Regions from separate parts of the Homo sapiens genome. Here regions 1 and 2 are each linked to region 3. Evidence: promoter capture Hi-C in 16 types of primary human blood cells and fetal thymus (Javierre and others, 2016). All regions are on one chromosome and are shown on one strand. The core of a region is centred on a gene start or on the middle of the fragment in contact, and the rest is flanking DNA. Distances in the headings are between cores, read along the strand shown.

The links. The method cuts DNA at HindIII sites, captures the fragments that hold promoters and counts their contacts. A CHiCAGO score of 5 or more calls a contact.
Region 1: a contact is called between a fragment that was not itself captured here and the fragment with the promoter of BTF3 in region 3, in 1 of 17 cell types (fetal thymus). The highest score is 6.5, in fetal thymus.
Region 2: a contact is called between a fragment that was not itself captured here and the fragment with the promoter of BTF3 in region 3, in 1 of 17 cell types (fetal thymus). The highest score is 6.4, in fetal thymus.

The regions. Positions count from the first base shown.
Region 1 is chr5:75,723,917-75,728,091 of GRCh38, forward strand. The region is part of intron 2 of LOC441087 (a long non-coding RNA gene); the gene reads left to right. Among named protein-coding and RNA genes, the nearest start is that of POC5, 8.6 kb to the left of the region's middle. The HindIII fragment of the contact is 916 bases long and covers 908-1,823 here.
Region 2 is chr5:75,507,607-75,511,492 of GRCh38, forward strand. It overlaps CERT1 (ceramide transporter 1), which reads right to left. Exons shown (of 17, transcript NM_001379029.1): 1 at 3,506-3,886. The coding sequence starts at 3,601. It also overlaps a transcript of POLK not described here. Among named protein-coding and RNA genes, the nearest start is that of CERT1, 2.1 kb to the right of the region's middle. RefSeq lists an enhancer at 3,380-3,449. The HindIII fragment of the contact is 1,003 bases long and covers 756-1,758 here.
Region 3 is chr5:73,496,344-73,500,337 of GRCh38, forward strand. BTF3 (basic transcription factor 3) reads left to right here and starts at 2,099. Exons shown (of 6, transcript NM_001037637.2): 1 at 2,099-2,456; 2 at 2,791-2,859. The coding sequence starts at 2,325. BTF3-DT (BTF3 divergent transcript) reads right to left here and starts at 1,977. Exons shown (of 1, transcript NR_186388.1): 1 at 1,210-1,977. RefSeq lists enhancers at 1,934-1,993, 2,024-2,323, 2,087-2,897 and a silencer at 2,534-2,583. The HindIII fragment of the contact is 2,385 bases long and covers 1,270-3,654 here.

The DNA.
Region 1 (4,175 bases), core at 116-2,615, 2.2 Mb after region 3:
CAGAAGGAAAAAGACCCTATCAATAAGGCAAAAACGCAGAGTAAATGATGGTTATTATGGACACAGTGGTCTACATATGAGGCAGTTCACCACTTTTCTGTGGATTAAGGGCTTATTCAGAGTATTTTGATTCTCTGGATTCTACAGGCCTGGCTCTGTTATTGCAGAAGGGAGTTCATTTCTTGGCCCTCATCACCAACCTTCTGCTTTTCCTAATTATAAACACTCATTCTTGAACCTCTCTAATAGCATCTTCTAGCCATATAAAAACTTCCTTACCCTTAGCATTCTTTCTCCTGATAAAACAATCTAGCATGAGGTGTGAGAGGCAGGATTAATTAGCTTTTCAGAGAACAATATTACTGAGTTTGAGTACTATACAGATGCTGTATTCTTGGATCTTTAGGGCTTCTGAGGGTGAGTTTGTAGATCAGGGTCATTCAGCTCAGTAATAAGAATTTACGCATTCTAAATTATGACCCTTCTTTCCTTTCTCCATTCTTCCCTTTCATTTTTTTTTTTTAATGGAGGGAAGGGAAGAGAGGCTAGATCTAGTATTTTAAAGCAGATTTGAAATGTTGTGGAAGAATTTGTTTCCTGTCTTTGAAAGCACCATTCTAATTGCTTTTTTGTAGTTGCCTTTTGTGTGTGAGGGGTCATGCCAATCAATCCACCTCACATCTATAAACATGTCCCAAAGCTTAATTGCAGATCTATTGTTTGTAACTTGAAATGCATTTTCCTACAGAAAAATGAAAGTATTATAATTCCAAGGTCAGCTCAATTATGAGTCCATAATAGGGCTGAAACATTGTTTGCAAGCATTGTTTGCAGTATGGTAGAAAACTATACTGTTGCAAGGCTAGCAGATTTAATGAACAGGAGGAAGAATGCTAAATGAGAAAAAAGCTTACTGTATTTTTATCTTGAATGCCGATGAAAAAGAAAAATGGCAATATGGTAGGAGTGGTGATATGCTTATTTACTTAGAGGAGGCTACAAAAAGTGTATTGAATTTAGGGAATTGATGGGGAGGTGGCAGGAGAGGAGTAGACATGATGAGCTTAGTAGGAAACAGAAAGTGTTTTCTGCTCTGAGACGTATCCTGTGTCTACCACGCTCCCAGCCCCTTTGGAGCATCTGTACCTCCCAATCTCACACAAGTTACTGTGTGAGTTAAAATATTAGTCTCCCTATACACAGCCTGCATGTGTCTTAATGTGTCTCTCATTTCACAGTCTGTGGGAGGATAGGTAAAAGGAGATTGGGGATCCCAGGTCATAGTCTCCATCTTGTAGCTCACCAGTTGGGGTCTATTTTAAGTCTGATTAATGGAGATACTAATCTTCATTAGCAAGGTCTTCAAGTGACTTGTCTTAGTGGAATAAGTGTGGCAATAAGAAACAGAAAACTCAATTTAAATGGCCCTGAATCCGTCCATTAGCACTCAATATAAGAAACTGGTAAAAGGATGAATTAGTATCGCCAAAGTAAATGACCATCTTTGCCCAGTGCATTTGGCAAGTCAGTATGCTGAGACACTGGGTTGCAGAAGAGAAAGAGATTTGATTGTAGGGCAGACAAATGAGGAGATGGGAGGAAATCTCAAATCCATCTGCCCAGGAGTTTGGGGCTAGGGTTTTTAAAGGTCTTGGAGTGGGCCAAAGTGTGGAGATCGTTGATTGCTTGAAGAGTGCAAGGTGAAGTCATGGGATAGGGAGATGAAGAAACTGTATTCTCATGCTGATTCCTCTGTGAGGGTCTTTGAACTGTTTCCCTGGAACTCAGGATCTGAAAAACTTCTTAAGCAATCCTTAAACAGAAGCTTTATGATTCTAATGTCAGCAATTCTATCAATAGGAACAGTGGGGATACAAATGGTCAGTATCTAGTGACTTTCAGTTACAAGGAAGTGGGCCAAAGTGCAGCCTGATTAATATAATTATATTTCTGTCTAGAATTCTTGTTAACCCTGTGGGAGGATGGCTTATTGACTTTTCTTTAAAAATTTTTTTTAAAATTTTTAATTTTTATGGGTACATAGTAGGTATATATATTTATGGGGTGCTTGAGATGTTTTGATACAGGCATGCAATGTGAAATAATCACATCATGGAGAATAGGGTATCCATCCCATTAAGCATTTATCTTTTGTGTTACAAACAATCCAATTACACTCTAGTTATTTTTAAATGTACAATTAAGTTATTGTTGACCACAGTCACCCTGTTATGCTATCAAATAGTAGGTCTTATTCATTCTTTCTATTTTTTTGTACCCATTAACTGTCCCCATCTCCCTTGCCAGCTCCTCAATACCCTTCCCAGCCTCTGCTAATCATCCTTCTATTCTCTATGCCCATGAGTTCAATTGTTTTGATTTTTAGATCCCACAGATAATTGAGAACATGCAATGTTTGTCTTTCTGTGCCTGGCTTATTTCACTTAGCATAATGATCTCCAGTTCCATCCATTTTGTTCAAATGATAGGATCTCATTCCTTTTCATGGCTGAATAGTACTTCATTGTGTATATGTACCACATTTCCCTTATCCATTCATCTGTTGATGGACATTTAGATTGCTTCCAAATCTCAGCTATTGTAAGCAGTGCTGCAACAAACATGGGAGTGCAGATATATCTTTGATATACTGATTTCCTTTATTTGGGGTATATACCCAGCAGTGGGATTGCTGGATCATATGGTAGCTCTAGTTTTAGTTTTTTTGAAGAACTTCCAAACTCTTCTCCATAGTAGTTGTACTAATATACATTCCCACTAATAGTGTACAAGGCTTCCTTTTCTCCACATCCTCACCAGCATTTGTTATTGTCTATCTTCTGGATATAAGCCATTTTAACTGGAGTGAGATGATATCTTTGTGGTTTTGATTTGCATTTCTCTGATGATGAGTGATGTTGAGCACCTTTTCATATACCCGTTTGCTATCTGCATGTCTTCTTTTGAGAGATGTCTATTAAAATATTTTGCCTATTTTTGATTAGATTATTAGATTTTTTTCCCATAGAGTTGTTTGAGCTCCTTATATATTCTGGTTATTAATCCCTTGTCAGAGGGGTAATTTGCAAATATTTCCTACCATTCTGTGGGTTGTCTCTTCACTTTGTTGATTATTTCCTTTGCTGTGCAGAAGCTTTTTAACTTGATGTGATCCATTTGTCCATTTTTATTTGTAAACCTTTATGGTGAACTCTGATGAAGAAATGTGCTATTTTATATAAATGTTTATGTTTAACTTTGATGAAGAAATGTACTATTTTATGTTGCAGAAGCACAGCCTTCTGTTGAATGATCTTTTAGAAGGAAGTCCCTTTCCTGTCTTGAGTCTTCATAGAATTAGCTTGCTTTCTTCTAAAAATATCTGCCCATCACTCTTATTTAGAATTCTTCGTTTTCTGAGACTGTTCATATATTAGGATGTTCTTTCCCCAGACTCCCTGTTTTTTCGTTTGCTCCTAATAAAGAATAGACTGTCTCTTCATTGAAAGATTTTTTAAAAAACATAAATAAATTATGATAAATAGATTGGAGTATAAAAACCAATCCGTTTGTATAAGTTACAAAAGTTCCTGAAGTGTCAAAAACCCTCATAGTAATTATTAATCATTTTCAATTTCCTGAGTTCTCTTCTGAGGTGGTAGATACTGACTCCAGTTTTTAGTTTGCGAATCAGCTTATATGTCTGGTGTATGTGCCAAACTAGTCTTACTGTAGCCTGGAGTTGATACAAGTTAGTTTTATGGATAGGTCTGAGAGATGGTCCCTTTGAGAATGTCCTTTCAGTTTCTACCTTGCAGGAATGGGTTATTCTTACCCCCATATGTTTCATTCCATTTTCCTCCCCTATGTAAACTTCCCCTCACCCAACATTGCTTGGGTCTCCTGTGTTCCCTAGTGTGCATCAAACTAACCTGTGTTGACCTAAAAGGAAGAAGCTTAAGCAAAATTAATATAAGTAGAGAGTTAATTTGGGCCAAGTTTGAGGATTGCAACCTGGAAGCATAGATTCAAGTTGTCCTGAATATACATTCCAGATAATAGCAGTTACAAGTAGATTTTTAAAGGCAGAAAGAGGGGGCAGGGAGTGGGCTGATACAAAGTCATCTGTCAGGAATTCTCATTGGTTTACAGAAATAACATTGACTGGTGATTGG
Region 2 (3,886 bases), core at 7-2,506, 2.0 Mb after region 3:
TCCTTCCTATTTTCCTACTTCCTTGGGGAGACTGCTACTTCTGCTCAGAGTTAGTGTATTAGATATACAAACAGATTAGTGGATATAGGATAAAATAGGCTCAACTATTTTATAACTCATGTGAAGAGAGTTTTGACAAGTTACTTTTGTAAACTTCAGTTTCTTTGCCTGTTGACTGACGGCCGAATAAAATAATGAAAATGCCTAGCATAGTCACAGAAGATACTCAATACCTAAGTGTTCCTTCTCAATATTTATAGCCCATTACCAAAAGCTGCTCATCTTTCCTTCATAGTAAACCCTTAAATTTGCCTCCTCTTCTCATTTTCAACTATTCCAATCAAATTATCCAGTTCCTGTATTCCTTAGGAGACTTAATAATTTTTTCTCTAGTATCTTCTGTTTTTTTCATAATTTACACAAGCTTATTTACTTACTAAGCATATTTGCCTACTTTTCTTACATTGATCGTATTGAGTCTCTAGCTCCAAAACTTACATGGACAACTTCCCACTGACTGTCATACAAATTGTTTAGGGCATTCAAGACCCTTCATGGATTAATCCTACCTCATTTACAATTACCACACTTCATAAGGCTAAACTTTGTGACAGTGGTCAAGTTACTTATTCTCTTTGTGTTCTTTTTTTCTTTGTCAAATTCTCTTAGAGTTAAGTTTAAACAAGAATAGACTTAGAACAGTGCCTGGACATAGTATTTTCTGAATCTGAGGAAGAGTTATACATAGCTAATGAAGCTTAACCTTCAGCATTTCTCACTAGAATAGAACTCTTTCAATGTTAGAGGAGAAGCCCCAGCAATTATGTATCCATAACTTAATATTAGTTCTTATAAGAGACTGAACAAACTGTATCAGCTTCAGGACCCTTTACTCAGTAAGTATTAGCTGTATCATGACACCTGGAAGACAAGTTTTTTGTCTTTTCTCTGCTCTCATAATGTTCCCTCACTCTTCCCCATTTAACAAATACAGATAAGGCAATATGCTAGACACTGCAGGGGAATCAAATATTACTGTGGCCAACAGGCCAGCAGACACAAACTCAAGAGAAAAAAATATATATTTAGAATAAGAGTCAGAAGCAAGCTACAAACAAAATGCTATGGGAATTCAAGTGAAGGAGGTCTTGAATGATGGCAAAATAAGAAAAGGCTTTATGGAAAGGACAGTATTTGGCTTGGACTCTTAAGGATGGACAGAATTTCAAACAGTTTGGTGTGTGGAAAAACAGAAGGTAAACCATGAAGGATGGAGGAAATTCAGAAATTGAATGAGATTATTTTATCCAGGCTTAGGTGCTCTCAAGTCCTACTAAGGCATGCATCTTTTCCCCACCATGATCCATCACGATACTTGCTATAACTAGATAGAATTATTGTCTATCTAGTATTTTTGGAATCTATACACTTAAGTGATTTATAAGAAATATGCTTCATAGGTATTTCCATGTATTTCAGATTACCATATGGAAAATACCCTTTGAACTGGTATATTTCTAATATAAATTTACCCAAGCCCATTCCAAATCCACCCCATTTTGGGGGAGAAACAAAATGAATTGTACCGGGACTTATTTACATTACTCAATGGAAGGAAAAGAACAAAATCCGAGTTCTGACCTTTGTTTAAATTACCAGGTGAATACAAAGAATTCAAACTATATAATTTACATTTAAAAACATCTACCATACTCAGTATGAGTATATATACTCAATTTAGAATACCCTTGATTAAAAAGCTTCCAGAAAACTGTATATAACCATAAATTGGTAAATCTCAGGAAAATTTCCTTCATAGCTTTGAGCAAGAATACCAAAAGCTTTATTCCTATTCATTCTACATATGCAGCAACAGTCAAAATTTAAGCTATTCACCTTCCATAGAGGTGATCAAATACATTTGTATGCATTTAAATATCGAGATTGGTCTTCCATTTTTTTATCTATAGTATACCTACTCCAGAGCACTGGTTACTTTTTCCCCCGGTCACTCCACTCCCCCAACCCCCAAAAAAGTAATTATCAGTAGGTCAAAAGTACAATTTGTTTCGTAAAATACTTAACACATCACAATACTAATATGGCAGTCAGCTTCCCATCTTATGAGCAGTGATGAAACTACCAAAATCACTGAGAAGCAAGTAACCCACTTCCTATTACCAACTGAAAATGTATACCTACTACACAATGTGTTCAATAGAGATTCCTAAATTACAGGATACATTTAATCTAAAGAAATCCTGAGGAGCTTCTCGTTACTGAAAACCTTGCACTGAAATTTCAAGAATGATCACAGCATCAATATACAACATAATTTTGCTGCTATACAAATAAAAGTCAACACTTGCAATCCTTAGTTCTGACTACTCATGCCTTTCCTGGCCCCCTTCTCATTAGCTTTCTAGACATTATAAAAGCCTAATATGAAACAATTCCACAAATAATGTCCAAGTGATTTGCCAAATATGAATACTGGAAACAGGGTGATTTCTTAATAGCCACTGGCTGCACATGACATAGTATCTTATGACCAGCTTGTTGAGGGACTGGCCCAGCTCCCCCTCTCCAAGTTAACTGCTAGCTCCAGCCATGTCTAAAAAAGTTTAACAGGAAGGGAGAGAGAAGTCAAAAAGGCTACGTGAATCTTCTTACAGCAAAAACTTAAAAAAAAAATCCCCACAACTATGTAATATCAAGAGATCATCCACCTGCAGTCCTATAATGACTGCTTTGCTAAAATTTTGATACAGGGATTTTAAAAAATATATAAAAGATAAAACATCTTTTCCTTACCCTCGACCCCTTACCGCAAAAATATTTTATTATTAAGTAATGCTCTTCCTGGACTAAAGATCAGTCTCCATTCTCACATGTTCCAAGTTACTATGAATATTTCCTGTACCCATCATGTGCCGATTCAATATCTCTATTCTGAACTAAGGTACAGGGTGAGGGAGAAAGTCCTCCACATTCATCTGTCTCACTACATCTAACCTAGCAGAATTCAACACCTCAAATTTCAACACCAAGCTGAGTCGCTCCAGCTTCTGTCGAAAGAGTTGCGTCCGCAGTGCCCCCCAACCTACTCGGCTTGGCATCCTCAGAGAGACCAACCTCTTTTAAGAGGTCCGACTTGAACCGCTCCCATGCCCAGTCGTTCGGACACCGCTGAAGCCCAACCCGGATTCCTTACACCCGGGACAGCTGCCGCCCTAAGTCCCAAGTCACGGCGCGCATCTGGCCTCCCAAACTGGATCTCAGGTTTATACACCCTTTCCCTGGTCCTCGGCTGCCCCCGACGAGCCCCCGGGCAACAAGGACAGTGCCCCTATATCCCCGCCTCATCCCTAGTCGCTGCAGCAACACTCAGCCTCGCACCCCGGCACGTTCCGCGCCTCCCGCCAGCCCCACCCCACCGCCTCAGCGGATTGCCTCGCTGCAGGTGAGTCTGGCCAGGGGTCCCTTGGCACCAGGGGTTGCTCACCTTACTGAGGACCCCGCAGCGCTCCACAGGCGGCCCAGACTCCGTCTCTGGATCCTCCTCCGAGCCCGACGAGTTCCAGCTCTGATTATCCGACATGGAGGCTCGACAACCGAGCAGGAGACCGGCCCCCGCTCCCTCAGCTGCGCCGGAGGAGGCGCCCAGTCCTCGGGGTGAAGGGTCGGGGGATGGCGAAGCGAAGAGTGCCCGCTCCGGTGTGGGGGGGAGCAGGAGGAGGGACGAAGTCCGCCCGCCGCGCCGCCGCCGCGCCTGACACCGAGCGGAGCGAGGAAGGAGGACGAGCGGTGAAGGAAGCCTACCCTTCCAGCCGTCAGCCGCCGCCGCCGTCGCCGTGACCCCTGCGTTGCGCCCGGCGCTGCCACC
Region 3 (3,994 bases), core at 849-3,348:
ATAATTATTTTATTAGAAGAATCAGAATTTCCTGACTACTCATAAAACCAGCAGAAGCAGCTGGAGTCAAAAATCAAAATTTTGGCCAGGTATCGTGGCTCATGCCTGTACTACCAGCACTTTGGGAGGCCCAGATGGGAGGATGGCTTGATCCCAGGAGTTTGAGACCAGCCTGGGCAACATAGCAAGACCTCCATCTCTAAATAGAAAAGCACAAAAACCAAACCAAAACAGAACGTAAAAAGAAAATCAAAATTTTCTTTTTTACTATTAAGTAATCTTTTATATTTTCAACACGCAGCAAACTTTTAAATTCATGAAAGAACAGGAGAAAAAAGTAGGAACGAGGGGAAAATTAAAAAGTCATAAGCCAGGGAAAGTGGTGCACACCTGTAGTTTCAGCTTCTCAAGTGGCTGAGACTGAAGGATCCTTTGAGCGCAGGAGTTTGAGCCCAGCCTAAGCAACAAAGTGAGACCCCATCTCTTTTAATTTTTTTAAAGTTTTATATTTTTTAAAAAAATTATAAAAATAAAATTAGCAGCATCCCTGGTTTCAAAAAGTAGAAATAAATAAATAAATAAAAGTAGCTCACAATATTTCCTGAAAACAGGTGTATTAAAAGGGCAGAGGAGAGGGAAGGCAAAGAAAAAGAAAAAAAAGGTGGCAGGTTACATACATACAATCTTGTCTCTATAAAAGCTCAGAAAACATCACGTGACTAGGAAGTTTCAAATGCCTCCAATATAACATGGAGGAGAGGAAAAAAACTGTTCCTGGACAAAGATACACATTTCTTCCAAAAGGGGGAGTCTTTCTATATATTTTGTAATATCTCCAGAGCACAGCATAATGTTGGTACTGCCATTTTGGCCTTTGTCATTAGGAAGGTAACCCACATAAGCCTAACTACAAACACCCTTACCTGTACTAAAACTTCACTCATATTTAACTGAAGCAACATTGTTTTTTGTAAATATAACTGTAACAATTATTCTAAAAGGCAATACAGCTGTCCTCACCAGTTATGTTCTTGAGACATCAGTTGCAACAAACTTATATGTAAAAAGTATTCAAAAAGTTTAAACATTGATCTTAACTGGAGAGGGGTCTGCACTTGAACAAGTTTTCTTGCTACACACATTGCATTCTAAGATTTCGGACTCACTTTTGAATATGCAAAGACATTTCATGGTTAAGACCACAAAAAGGCTGATCAGAGAACATTTTTATTTAAATTGCCATTTTAAATATCAGTCGTTTTATCTTAAAGCTTGTCCTGGGTTTAACAAAGTTTAACTCACATCCACGCGTTGTCTCTCCAAACACAGCAGGCAGAAATTCTCCTTTGATTGGATTAAGATAGATAAAGTCTGCTTAACCGTGAATCGCTAATTGTCAAATCCATGCCAATTCGGTACCTAGGAGTCAATTTTTTTGCCTGATAAACAAGATAATTGTGTGGACCGTTTTAAGGTGGTTAGTCATCTGCTAAATTGGCTGAAATGCGGATTACCCAGTTCCTTCGTCGTACAGAGTTGCATTCTGAGGAGTGGGGCTCGGGGATACAGCCCCCAGAAATTCTGAACCTCGGTCCCGCAATCTACCACACCACCTAACCTTGGAAGGCCAAACTAACTTCACTATTTTTGACAAAATGCTTTGGTAATGGCTCATTCGGGCCGAGAGGGAAATTCTGCAATTCTCCAACCCACACCTCCAGCAAGGGGAGAGCTGCTTGAGTGGTGAGCACAAGCTGGGCACCTCCGGCGTCTCCAGGAAACGTGAATAGGCCCTTTCTTCGGAGGGCACAGAACTTCAGGATCAGGGCCCAATGGAGACTGAGCGGACTTAACCCTAACTGTGCACAGGACCGCGCTCTCCGACCCCTTTGTGGCCTCTCCCAGAGGTACGGGCTGCGCCCCAAGCCAGCAGTCTCTCGTAGGGCCTACAGCCGGCAGCCGCTGGAGCAGGAGGAGGAGAATAGGGACTCGCTGGACCATCACAAACGCTGTCGCGCGTGCGCAGGGAGGAACCGAGTTCGCGGCGAAGTCAGTTTCCTGACTCTTGAAGGAAGTGGCCTTGTGTCACTTCCGGCCTCCCTTTAGCTGCCATCTTGCGTCCCCGCGTGTGTGCGCCTAATCTCAGGTGGTCCACCCGAGACCCCTTGAGCACCAACCCTAGTCCCCCGCGCGGCCCCTTATTCGCTCCGACAAGGTACAAAAAGGCTCTGGACGGCGGCGTGGTAGGAGGACGGGAGCGGGGGCGGGAAGTTCCCTGAAGGAGCGAGACAGGGAGGGACAGGGCAGAGGAGGAGAGGAAGGCGATGCGACGGACAGGCGCACCCGCTCAGGCTGACTCTCGGGGGCGAGGTCGAGCCAGGGGCGGCTGCCCTGGGGGCGAGGCGACGCTGTCTCAACCTCCACCTCGCGGCGGAACCCGAGGACAGGAGCCTCAGGTACCGCGAGGCTTGCGGAGAGTGGCCGGGCCGGGCAGGCCCTGGCTAGGCCGAGGCCAGGCCAGGGCCAGGGGTGGGGGGTGCTGGCCAGGCGTGGGGTAGAGCCTTTCATCCGGGCCTGCCAAGAGCGGGGAGCTGTGGGGGAGTGGTGGGGAGGCGGGTGCTCTTTGGGCTCCCTGGAAACCCAAATTTGGAGCTTTGCGGGGTGGATTTGGGATCCAGGTTTCGGCCTGTGTAGGACGTTTATTTTCCTGCTGGTATCTTGGGAAATAACGAGCATGGAATGCTAGAGTGAGCTAAACCTATCCTTGCTGAGGATTTCCTCTTTTTCTAGATGAAAGAAACAATCATGAACCAGGAAAAACTCGCCAAACTGCAGGCACAAGTGCGCATTGGTGGGAAAGTAAGTTTTAATAGTTCGGGTTTGTGGGTTTTTTTTTTAAGGTTTAGGTATTTTAAAAAACATATTCCTTTTGCGCTTCTTATATTATCGGTGACAAACTTTGCCTATCGAGGGAAATTCACGGAGCTAGCAAATCTCGAGGAGCGGGGGAGACGAGGGTTGGAGACACATCAGTGAGACGAGCTAAAAACATCGCCTTTGTGTAAACATGTTTGTGTTTTCAGTGTTACAGAGTGTAAGTAGAACACAAAAGTGTTTCCTAATTTAATTAGTAAGGAAAATGTGTCATTTCAGTTAGATCGTTGTGCACATCATACCCTTGACTTGTTTTGGCCTGAGTTTTCTAAAGTCAGTGCTTGTTTGTCTCTCTTGTAAATTGAGACCTTTCTGTACTGCTTTCTGAACTAAATATTCTTTAGGGTAGTTGCATATTTCAAGGGTATTTGAAGATACGGGTACATTTTGGAGTTTAAGAGCAGTGACTATTAGATTTGAAAATATAACCCAAGTAGGTATCTTTCCTGTTCTGACTTTGTATTACTGTAAAAATGAGGGAATTAAAGTGACTGATTTTTAAATGATCAGTTTTTGATTAATTGTTTTTTTCCTGGTGGATACTGATTCACATCAAGGGGATTCTTTTTTGAAGCTGATTTTTAGATTGTCCTGTAATTAATAAGAAGTCCACTGTAGACAGAGGTCTACCTAGTTTGTATTGTTAGCACATTCTTAGTATTTAACAAGGTGTGGTAGCTTGTTGAAACAGAGCATGTCTTTACTTGGTAAAACTTGTAAAGCTTCCATGGTACATGTTTATTACCTTTTAGTTTTTCCCAACTTTAAGCGTTTAACTTAGAGTTAGCTGTGAGATAGCCAGAAGTTGCACTTAGACTTAAATAATAATATACAGCTTTGTTAAATTACTGAACTTTGCCAGCGGTGAATTTATCCTGATTTTTTTTTACTTTTTATTTTTGTTAACGTTAGCCATCTTCAGGATCCACACCCACACATTTAACAACATTAGATGTTTCTTGTCCTCTTTAATCAATTGTTATCAGACTGTGGCCTTCAAGTGCCAGCAAAACTCAAATTTTTTGTGTCTCAGTGTTTGGATGCTCTTATATTGGTGTTT